2 separate regions of the Homo sapiens genome follow, and region 2 is linked to region 1. The links are contacts of gene promoters, found by promoter capture Hi-C in human tissues and cell types (Jung and others, 2019). All regions are on one chromosome and are shown on one strand. The core of a region is centred on a gene start or on the middle of the fragment in contact, and the rest is flanking DNA. Distances in the headings are between cores, read along the strand shown.

Region 1 (4,165 bases), core at 1,414-3,913:
GAGCCAGAAGAGGGCATGAGACCCCAGGGAGAGAAGGGTAAAGGGAGGGTCTAGGTGGATCCAGGCAGGAGGGCTTGGGCAGCCCCTCACAGTCCTGTATCAGGCCCAAGGAACTGGCGAACAGCAGAACAATTCTGTGTCTTACAAACGAGTTGAAAGTAAATGCTAAATCCAAAGGGACCTTTCACCAGGAGGGAAGTACAGTGTCTCTGCAATCTAGGGGCAGATGGCACATGGCTGTCTCCTATATTGCCAGCCAAAAATAGGGACAGGCAGCCTCCTTGGTACAAACAAAGCCCCTAGCACAGACATGAAACCCCAGGGGGAAATTGGGACATTTCTGTTCCTGAGCAAAATGGCATTTGAAATGGTAAAGTATAGATAAATCAGAAAGATGTGTGGACGCCTGAGTTTATGAACTGTGATTCATACCAGCTCCCCAGACATCATCTCCCCATAGCCCTGTGAGGCAGATTTTATGCTCCCCATTTTACAGGTGAGGAAACTGAATGAAGTTCAGGGAACTGGACTGACTTGCCCAGGGTCGTAGGATTTGAACCAGGGCTGTTTGAGCCCAAATTCACCCACTTTCTGCTGCAATACAGACACAGCCTCCCGGCCTCAAACCAGAGGGTGTAAGCTTTCATTAACTGGCTGCACAAACTCTACTAATTCCTTGCCTTATCTGCCTCAGTTTCCCCACAAGGATAGTAGCAACCTGACCCAACCCACAAGAGTTATACGATGGGACCACTGTGAGGATGATTGCCATGTACAAGATGTGGGCAGAGTCCAGCAAGTACCTTGAATGGATAATTAAGTTCAAAGCCATGGCCCCAAACCCTTGGGGGCACCACCCAGACTCTGGAGAGCAGTGGAGCAGGCCAGTGAAGGCCTAGTGTGAGGGAGGCAGTGTGGCCCACTGATTAGCAGGGACTCAGACAGACACAGAGGGTGGCAGGGTCAATTGACTCCAACACTCACTCGCTGTGTGTCCCCAGGAAGCAGTCACCCTTTCTGATCCTCAGCCTCCTCATCCAATGTATGAGAGACAACAATACCAACCACTCCTGAAGAAGATGAGGTTCAAATATGGAGAGCACCTGGCATGCAGTCAGTGCTTAATAAAAGCACATTTATTCCTTCTCTCTCCACTTTTGCTTATAAGGTGTTAGGTTTTGCAGGGTAAGAGCTGCGCTCACTGGTCCAGGACCTTGGCCTTCCTGTGTCTTCACTTTTTCATCTGCTGAACAGACTCCAAGGGCCCCAGTGGTGGGGATAAATAAATGCCTGATTACTCCATTTAGGGAAAGGTAGAAGAAAGGGTAGGATAGAGACCAGGATGCCAAAGGATCCCTCAGGCCTGGGAACCTGGAAAGACTTTTCCAGGACCTAAAAGAGAAGCGGCGGGGCACTGTGGCTCACGCCTGTAATCCCAGCACTTTGGGAGGCTGAGATAGGTGGATCACCTGAGGTCAGGAGTTCGAGGACAGCCTGGCCAACATGGTGAAACCCCATCTCTACTAAAAATACAAAAACTTTGCCAGGCATGGTGGCGCTCGCCTGTAGTCCCAGCTGCTCAGGAGGCTGAGGCAGGAGAATCACTTGAACCCGGGAGGTGGAGGTTGTCATGAGCTGAGATCACACCACTGCACTCTAGCCTGGGCGACAGAGTAAGACTGTCTCAAAAAATAAAATAAAATAAAAATTAAGTGAAAATTTAAAAAATAAAAAGGGACGCATGAAAGTGTAAAGTTCACAGGTGGGGAAATCAAAATGGCCAGCAAGTGTTGGGAGGCACCTTCATCTCTCAGTGCAGTGATTCGGGGAAAGGACCTGAATGTGGATGTCTCACCCCAGGCAAGCACTGCATCTCTGGACAACTTGCCTCACACTCAGCCTCAGTTTCCCCCTTATAGAATAGGAGTACAGGGTTGTGAGGATTTTGTGAGATGCTGCCTGTGAACACCATGGCAGGCCAGGCATACAGCAGGAGCTCGGCCAGTGTCTGCTGTTGGCGTTGTTTTTGTTGTTTTCATTCTCCAGTCAGTTGCATTCTAACTCTGCTGCATCCTCTCTGGGTCTTTCAGCACTTGTCCCCACTGGATCTCAGTTTCCTCCTCTATAAAAGAGGAGGAGTCACCTCTCCCTCTCAGGGTTCTTGTGAGGACAGAGAGCTCCTGACGTGCAATAGGGGCTCTGAAAACAGGAGACCCTTGCCCTGGAATGGAGACGCACCCCAGATGTAGGATGCAGTGTGACTCTTTTGACATTTTAGGAGAAAGAATCCTCCAACTGGAGCAAAAAAATTAGAGCAGGAGAGGAAAGGGGCCAAGAGATGAGACTGAGGTCCCTTCCTGGGCTCTGTCTGGCTGCTCCTTTCAATGCTCCAAGCTACCTTGGGAGCGTGGGTCCCCAACCTTGGCTCCGCTCAGGAAACCATAAAGTCTTGAGTAACATCCCATCTCAGGTTTTTCTCTGTTTATCTTGTTGACCAAATAGCTTAACTGTCTCACCTGCTAATGTGATTGGCAATTATTTACTTTGGAGAGCCCTGAAAGACACTGTCAGATTGCAGAATTCTCAATTATCTAGAAACCCATCACCCAACACATGCTTCCTCGTCCCCATACTATAAAAGAGGCTGACTCCTCGGCAGAAGTGAGTGGGGGAGAGAGAGGAGACCAGGACAGCTGCTGAGACCTCTAAGAAGTCCAGGTAAGAGCCATCCATTCTGTGGCCCCTCTGCTACCCTTAACGGCAGGGATCTCAGGCTCCTGCCCTGTGGGGCAGTGAGTGATCTTGATCACTCACTGGGGGCTGTGCAAGAGAAACAGACCTGGCCAATGTCAGGGATGTGGGGATGGCCATTTGCTCTGCTGTCCTAAGAGACCAGTAACATTGATATAGAAATGGGCACTATTAATGCCGTAAATGAAAGCCTCTAAGGCATAAGTTTTAGCTTGAGGTTACCAATGTGGATACAGATGATCCAAAAACCTCCTAAAATTCTTCACCCAATTTTATACATTTTGATGCATTTTTTCTGAGACTAGGATCTTTAGCTTCCATTGGATTCATAAAGGGTCTGTTGCCCAAAAGAGATTCAGAGGCTGTGGTCAAAGTTACCTCCCTAAGAAGGGCACAACTGGCTCTTTGGACCAAAGACCTTTCATTTCCAGCCTTCCACCACAAGGATGGAGCTTTAGCTGAGTCAGCCAATAGATGGAATTTTGCACAAAGTCACCAGTTGTCTCCAAATTGTAGGTACTAGTGCTGGCTCTGGACAACTCTGCTGGCTGCCAAATAGACCTGTGAGAGGTCTGCAAGCCAAACCTCAGGGGTTGACCGGAATTCCATCCAGGGCAGCTTGAAGGAGAAGAGAAAGGTGTCAAAATGATAGAATGCATGTTTGTGTGTTGGGTGAGGGGAGGGTTGGGAGACCTGCCTTCAACCACAGCTCTGCCATCAATTTATTGTATGACCTTGGGAAAGTCACTACCCCTCTTTGGTCTCCTGGTTCTTCTCATGCAATGAAGACTTTGATGGCCCCAGGAATTCCCCAACAAAGGTCTACATGAGATGGTGGCTGTGGCCATGCGACCCCTGTATTGTGTGACTTTCAAGGGCATCCACCAACCATCATGGCCTGAGCTCAGGCCAAAGGACTGAACAGGGATGATCTAAAACAGTTCAATTCTTCAGCACTTGCACGTTTAACCCTTCTCATTTGCTTTGTCTGAAGAGCAGCAATGATTCAAACCATTGAAGCAAGCCCGATTGGAGAATAAATCTGATGGTTACTTAATTTAACCGAGGGTTCACCTGGCTCTAGCTTCTAATCCTCTGTCCACCGTGTACTTGTGACCTTGGGGAAAGTTACCCACACTCGGTAGTACACAAGTGGGTTTCAAGAAGGGATGGGAGTATATTTGAAACTCCCAACTGCAAACTCACTTGACCTCTGTGAGCCTTGGTTTCTCCTACTGGAAAATCAGACAAGTGAACTGTGGGCAAGATGGAGTGAGGTGAGGCTGGGATTCTTGGCAAGAAGGAAAAAAACCCTCTTCTTTGGAATGTGGTGGAGTGGGGCTGTCTCCTTTTTAGGCCCCTGATCAGTGGTCCTCACCTGTGCAATGCAGGTAACAGGTGCCCATGTCTTAGG
Region 2 (4,761 bases), core at 1,797-4,296, 40 kb before region 1:
TGGGCCCAACAGGCCCCACCTCTTAATACCACTACTTTGGGGTTTAAGTTCCAACATATGAATTTTGGAGGGACACATGCATTCAAACCATGCACGTGTTTTAAGACATCTTTGCAATTAAGGCTTTAGTGGGGTCCCAACTTTTCAAATGGTTGAGCACATCTGTTCTGAAGTCTTCAAGGAACAAACATCTTCAGTGAGATAGAGAACAGTTGCCCCTACCCTACAAGGAAACCACAGCTCTGCTTTAAAAGGAGGAAATTGTGATGTAGTGTGAAGGTTACAAGCTTTCATAGAATGTAGAACTAGATTCAAATCCTGATTCTATTATACACTAGCTCTAGGACCTTGGGCAAGATTTGTCTTCTCTTGAGTCTTAGTTTCCTCATCTGTAAAATCAGGCAAATTAGTTCTTAGATGATAAGGATGCATTTGTGAAAATTGCCTGTCAATGTGAGCTACTATTATTATAGATGGAGAGACGGAGACCATGAAAGGGCTTGGGAGCTGTCCAGCATCAAACAGCAAGAAATGGGCAGCGCCATGCTAGAATTCAAGGGTCTGGGACCACAAACCAGTAAACTGAAGCTAGGACACCCTCTGCCTCCCCACTCACAGAAGACCGAGTGGCTTCCTTCCTCGGAGTCACCAGGCCCATCTCGCTTATTGTACAGATGAGAAAAGCATCTCAGAGTGGAGCAGGGATGTGAATGTGACTCCTGCACACCATCTTCCCACTTGCAGCCCCTCTCGGTGCTCTCCACACTCTCTGCACCTCTCCATTTGATGGCATTCATGATGTACAGATTCAAATATGTTGTTGACATTCCCCCGGGCCTTCCAAGCAGGAATGTTTGCTTTGGAGGTATTGGATAGACGTGGTAAAATCAAGGGCTTTCCATCAGCTTCCTAGCTGTCCATCACCCAGTGCCACGTCTCCCCCAGCAATGGGATCACTTGCCATTTATACAGTCTGCCCCCCTACAAAGTCATCGGGAATCAACCTACAGAGGCCAGAGTGTCTTGACAGCACACCAGAGAAATCCAGGTAAGCACAAGGCAATGGCACTCTCCAACCTGCCTCTTCATCAGATGCTGAACCAGACTAAAGCTTTTGATACATGTTACCAGTTATTACCAATTGTGTTTGGTTCTAGCACAGAACATGAAAAATCGTGGCTTCAATCATGATGAGAAGCCCAGAGTTAGGCTGGCAGAGCCTGCCATCTCCTTCCTTGGCTACCCCTAGGATGTGGCTTTCATCTTCCTGCTAGTAAGATAACTGCTGGGCTCCAGTCGTCATATCTTATATGTAATCAGGAAAAAGCAGGAGAGGAAAACAAAAGCATGCAATTTGCAGCTGGGTCAGCCACTCTAGAGAAGTTTTTAAGAAGCCCCGACCTACAATTTCCATTTATATCTCATTGATCATGCCTGGTTGCAAAGAAGGTTGGGAAAGATAATTTCTTTGTTAAGCACATTTCTTCCCTCAAAAATAAAAGGATTCTGTAAATAAAGAGGGAAGAATGGGCATGTGCCCTCGGCTCTCCAAGCTTCCGTTTCCTGCTCTGTAAAGGAAGCATGTCAATAACTGTCTCATAAGATTGGGATGTTGTAAGGAATTGGGGGACTCCTCCAACACCCAGCAGGAAAGATGCTCCCTGGCCACCCTCCCCTCCTTCAGACTGTCTGTGAGTCTTCCAAGGGTACTCACTGTCAGAACCAGGGAGGGATAAAAAGGAACTTTAATTGCAAATCCAAAATTAACTTCTATTTAGTGGCACTAGGCTAAACAATTTTCAAAATGCTTCCTGAATTCTCCTAGTAACCTTTTTGAGTGAGATGCAGATTAAAGTATAAAAAACTAAAAGACGGGAGAGCCAGGTGCTAGCCACTAACTACAGCTGGCCTTAGGAAAACTTAACCCTGATCCGAGCCTCAGTGTGCCATCTGTAAAATGGGTATTGGGCCAGGTGCGGTGGCTTATGCCTGTAATCCCAGCACTTTGGGAGGCGGAGGTGGGAGGATCACGAGGTCAGGAGTTTGAGATCAGCCTGGCCAATATGGTGAAACCTGTCTCTACTAAAAACACAAAAAGTAGCTGGGCATGATGGAGCACACCTGTAGTCCCAGCTACTCGGGAGGTTGAGGCAGGAGAATCGCTTGAACCCAGGAGGCAGAGGTTGCAGTGAACCGAGATCGTGCCACTGACTCCAGCCTGGGTGACAGAGCAAGACTCCATCTCAAAAAAAAAAAATGGGTGTTGGGTGGGTAAGAATGAGTCCAAATGACTCCTTTGCTTCCCCCCTATCTCCTTTAGCTCCATAGAGAACCTCTCAGAGTGACCCTGAAGCTGACTGTACTTACCTGGTATCCCACGGGTACTGCCCCAAGATGCTGAAGGTCTCGGGCCTCCTTATCCTCTGTTGGTTTCTTGCCCTGTTGTCTGCTCAATATTTGAATATTTGACTTGCCTGTGGGTTTATTATATCATATATTTTAATTTCTTGGCCTTTAGTCCCTTGGTCATTTTTTAAGCATGCATGCCTTGTAAATTTTTATTGGATGCTGAACATGGTGGTGAAATGACATTATCTTTTTTCCAGAAACGAAGATGGCAGAAAGATAGAGCAGAAATGGATCATGACCCTGCCTAGGCTTAGCTTTGTGTTTTATTAAGTAGAACTATTTTGGTCTTGTTCTTACTTTTAGAGGGAGACTATTTCTAGGGTGTGGCCCTTTCTCCTAGAGCACAGTGCTTTATGTCTTCACTGAGAGCTTAAGATGTGTACCAAGGTTCCTCCCATCAAAGGGGCCCCACCTCAAACTAGCGCTTCCTTCCCCAGCATCACACAGTGGATGTGCTGATGTCTCTGTTCAGCTTTTTAACTTTCACCTGCTATTTTCTGCCACATGGCTGAGAGTCCCACACTGCTAGGGTGCAGCTTAAAAAGCTGAGATTTCAAGGCTCCTTCCCTGGGGAACTTCCTCTTTGGGATTTTTGCCCCTCAAGTCCCAGCCACTCTGGTAGCCCCAAATTCCAACTTCTGTCCCCTCATCCCTGTAAGACTAGCTCTTTTTGCTTGGACCCTGGTTGACATGTTGGAAAATGACCTCAGGCAAAAGCTGGGTGAATATGGAGCCCGCCTTGAATGATGCCTCTTTCTCAAGAATCACGGGGTTTCAAATTGTGCCCATGTAGTTGCTCATGGATGTCCTCCTTTGTTTTTACAGATTTCCATCTCTTATAGTTGACTTTAATTGGGAGTGTTAGTCTGATGCAAGATACTCTGTCATGATCAAAACCAGAACTCTGCAGATGGAACTTGAACTTAGATTTCATAGGGACTGTGCAACCCCTCATTTGGGGTTCAGGGATAGGGTGAGAAGGATGAACACAGAGAATGCTTCGATACTTATAAAAACAGGCTGGGCGCGGTGGCTCACGCCTGTAATCCCAGTACTTTGGGAGGCTGACGCGGGCAGATTACCTGAGCTTAGGAGTTCACGACCAGCCTGGGCAACACGGTGAAACCCCGTCTCTACTAAAATTAAAAAAAAAAAATTAGTCGGGTGTGGTGGCTTGCGCAGAGGTTGCAGTGAGCTGAGATTGCGCCACTGCACTCCAGCCTTGGTGACAGAGCGAAACTCCATCTCAAAAACAAAACAAAACAAGACACCACACACACACACATAAACACACAAACAAACAAACACACAAAACAAACAAACAAATAAAACACACACACAAACAAACAAAAAGAACTTCAGGGTTGGTTATTCCTAGAAAATGCTTCGTGGGTTATAATGTGGCAGGTAAATGCAGAAAAACACCTAAGGATATTCCTGCCGGTGCCATCTGGGGTAAAAACATGAAAATAGCCCAAAAGAGGAGACATTCCATGAACATCAGTCAATACATACCTTAGAAAATTCTGCAGACAAGGAGGTAGACAGTCCTGATGTACTGCTACTTGAATAAATGCTTCTGTAGAAGCATGACAGGCCAATCCTTGTTTCTCATCATGTTACATGAATGCACGCCTATGGAAAGAAAAACTTCCAAAAAAAGATACAACAGAAGTTATCTCTGTGAACTGATTTTTATTTACTTTTTTCTCTTTGTGCATATCTTCACTTTCTAATTTTTCTACTTGCCTAAAAACAGATCACCCAAATTAAAATGTTAAGCCAGGCCAGTTGCGGTGGCTCACGCCTGTAATCCTAGCACTTTGGGAGGCCAAGTCGGATGGATCACCTGAGGTCAGGAGTTCGAAACCAGCCTGGCCAACATGGTGAAACCCCGTCTCTACCAAAAATATGAAAAAATTAGCTGAGCGTGGTGGTGGATGCCTGTGATCCCAGCTACTTGGGAGGCGAGGCAGGAGAATTGCTTGATACCAAGAGGCGGAGGTTGCAGTGAGCCGAGATCACACCACACCGCACTCCAGCCTGGGAAACAGAGTGAAACTCTGTCTCAAAATAAATAAATAAATAAATAAAATAAAATAAAATGCTAAACCAAATGGGTTATGAATTTACATGAGAATAGTGACCAGGGACTGGGCTGAGAGTCTGCTTGGAATCTGTCAAGTGTCGAAGGAGAGAATCGGTCCCTACCAGCCTTTACCTGTTAGTCTCAGGTCCTAATGGGACCATTTGCACTGGCATTTGGTTGAAGTCCCAGGAAGCCACACGAACATCTTCATGCACCTCCTTTCCAGGAGGTGTGGAGGGTGTGTCAAGATCCCGAGGGCCACT

Evidence for each region. The method cuts DNA at HindIII sites, captures the fragments that hold promoters and counts their contacts. A contact is called where the count stands out against the background at its distance.
Region 2: a fragment that was not itself captured here is called in contact with the fragment with the promoter of BPIFA1 in region 1 in 1 of the 25 tissues and cell types used here (spleen).

What each region holds. Positions count from the first base shown.
Region 1 is chr20:33,233,333-33,237,497 of GRCh38, forward strand. BPIFA1 (BPI fold containing family A member 1) reads left to right here and starts at 2,664. Exons shown (of 9, transcript NM_130852.3): 1 at 2,664-2,718. The HindIII fragment of the contact is 6,820 bases long and covers 1-4,165 here.
Region 2 is chr20:33,192,594-33,197,354 of GRCh38, forward strand. It overlaps the pseudogene BPIFA4P. Among named protein-coding and RNA genes, the nearest start is that of BPIFA3, 22 kb to the right of the region's middle. The HindIII fragment of the contact is 4,694 bases long and covers 700-4,761 here.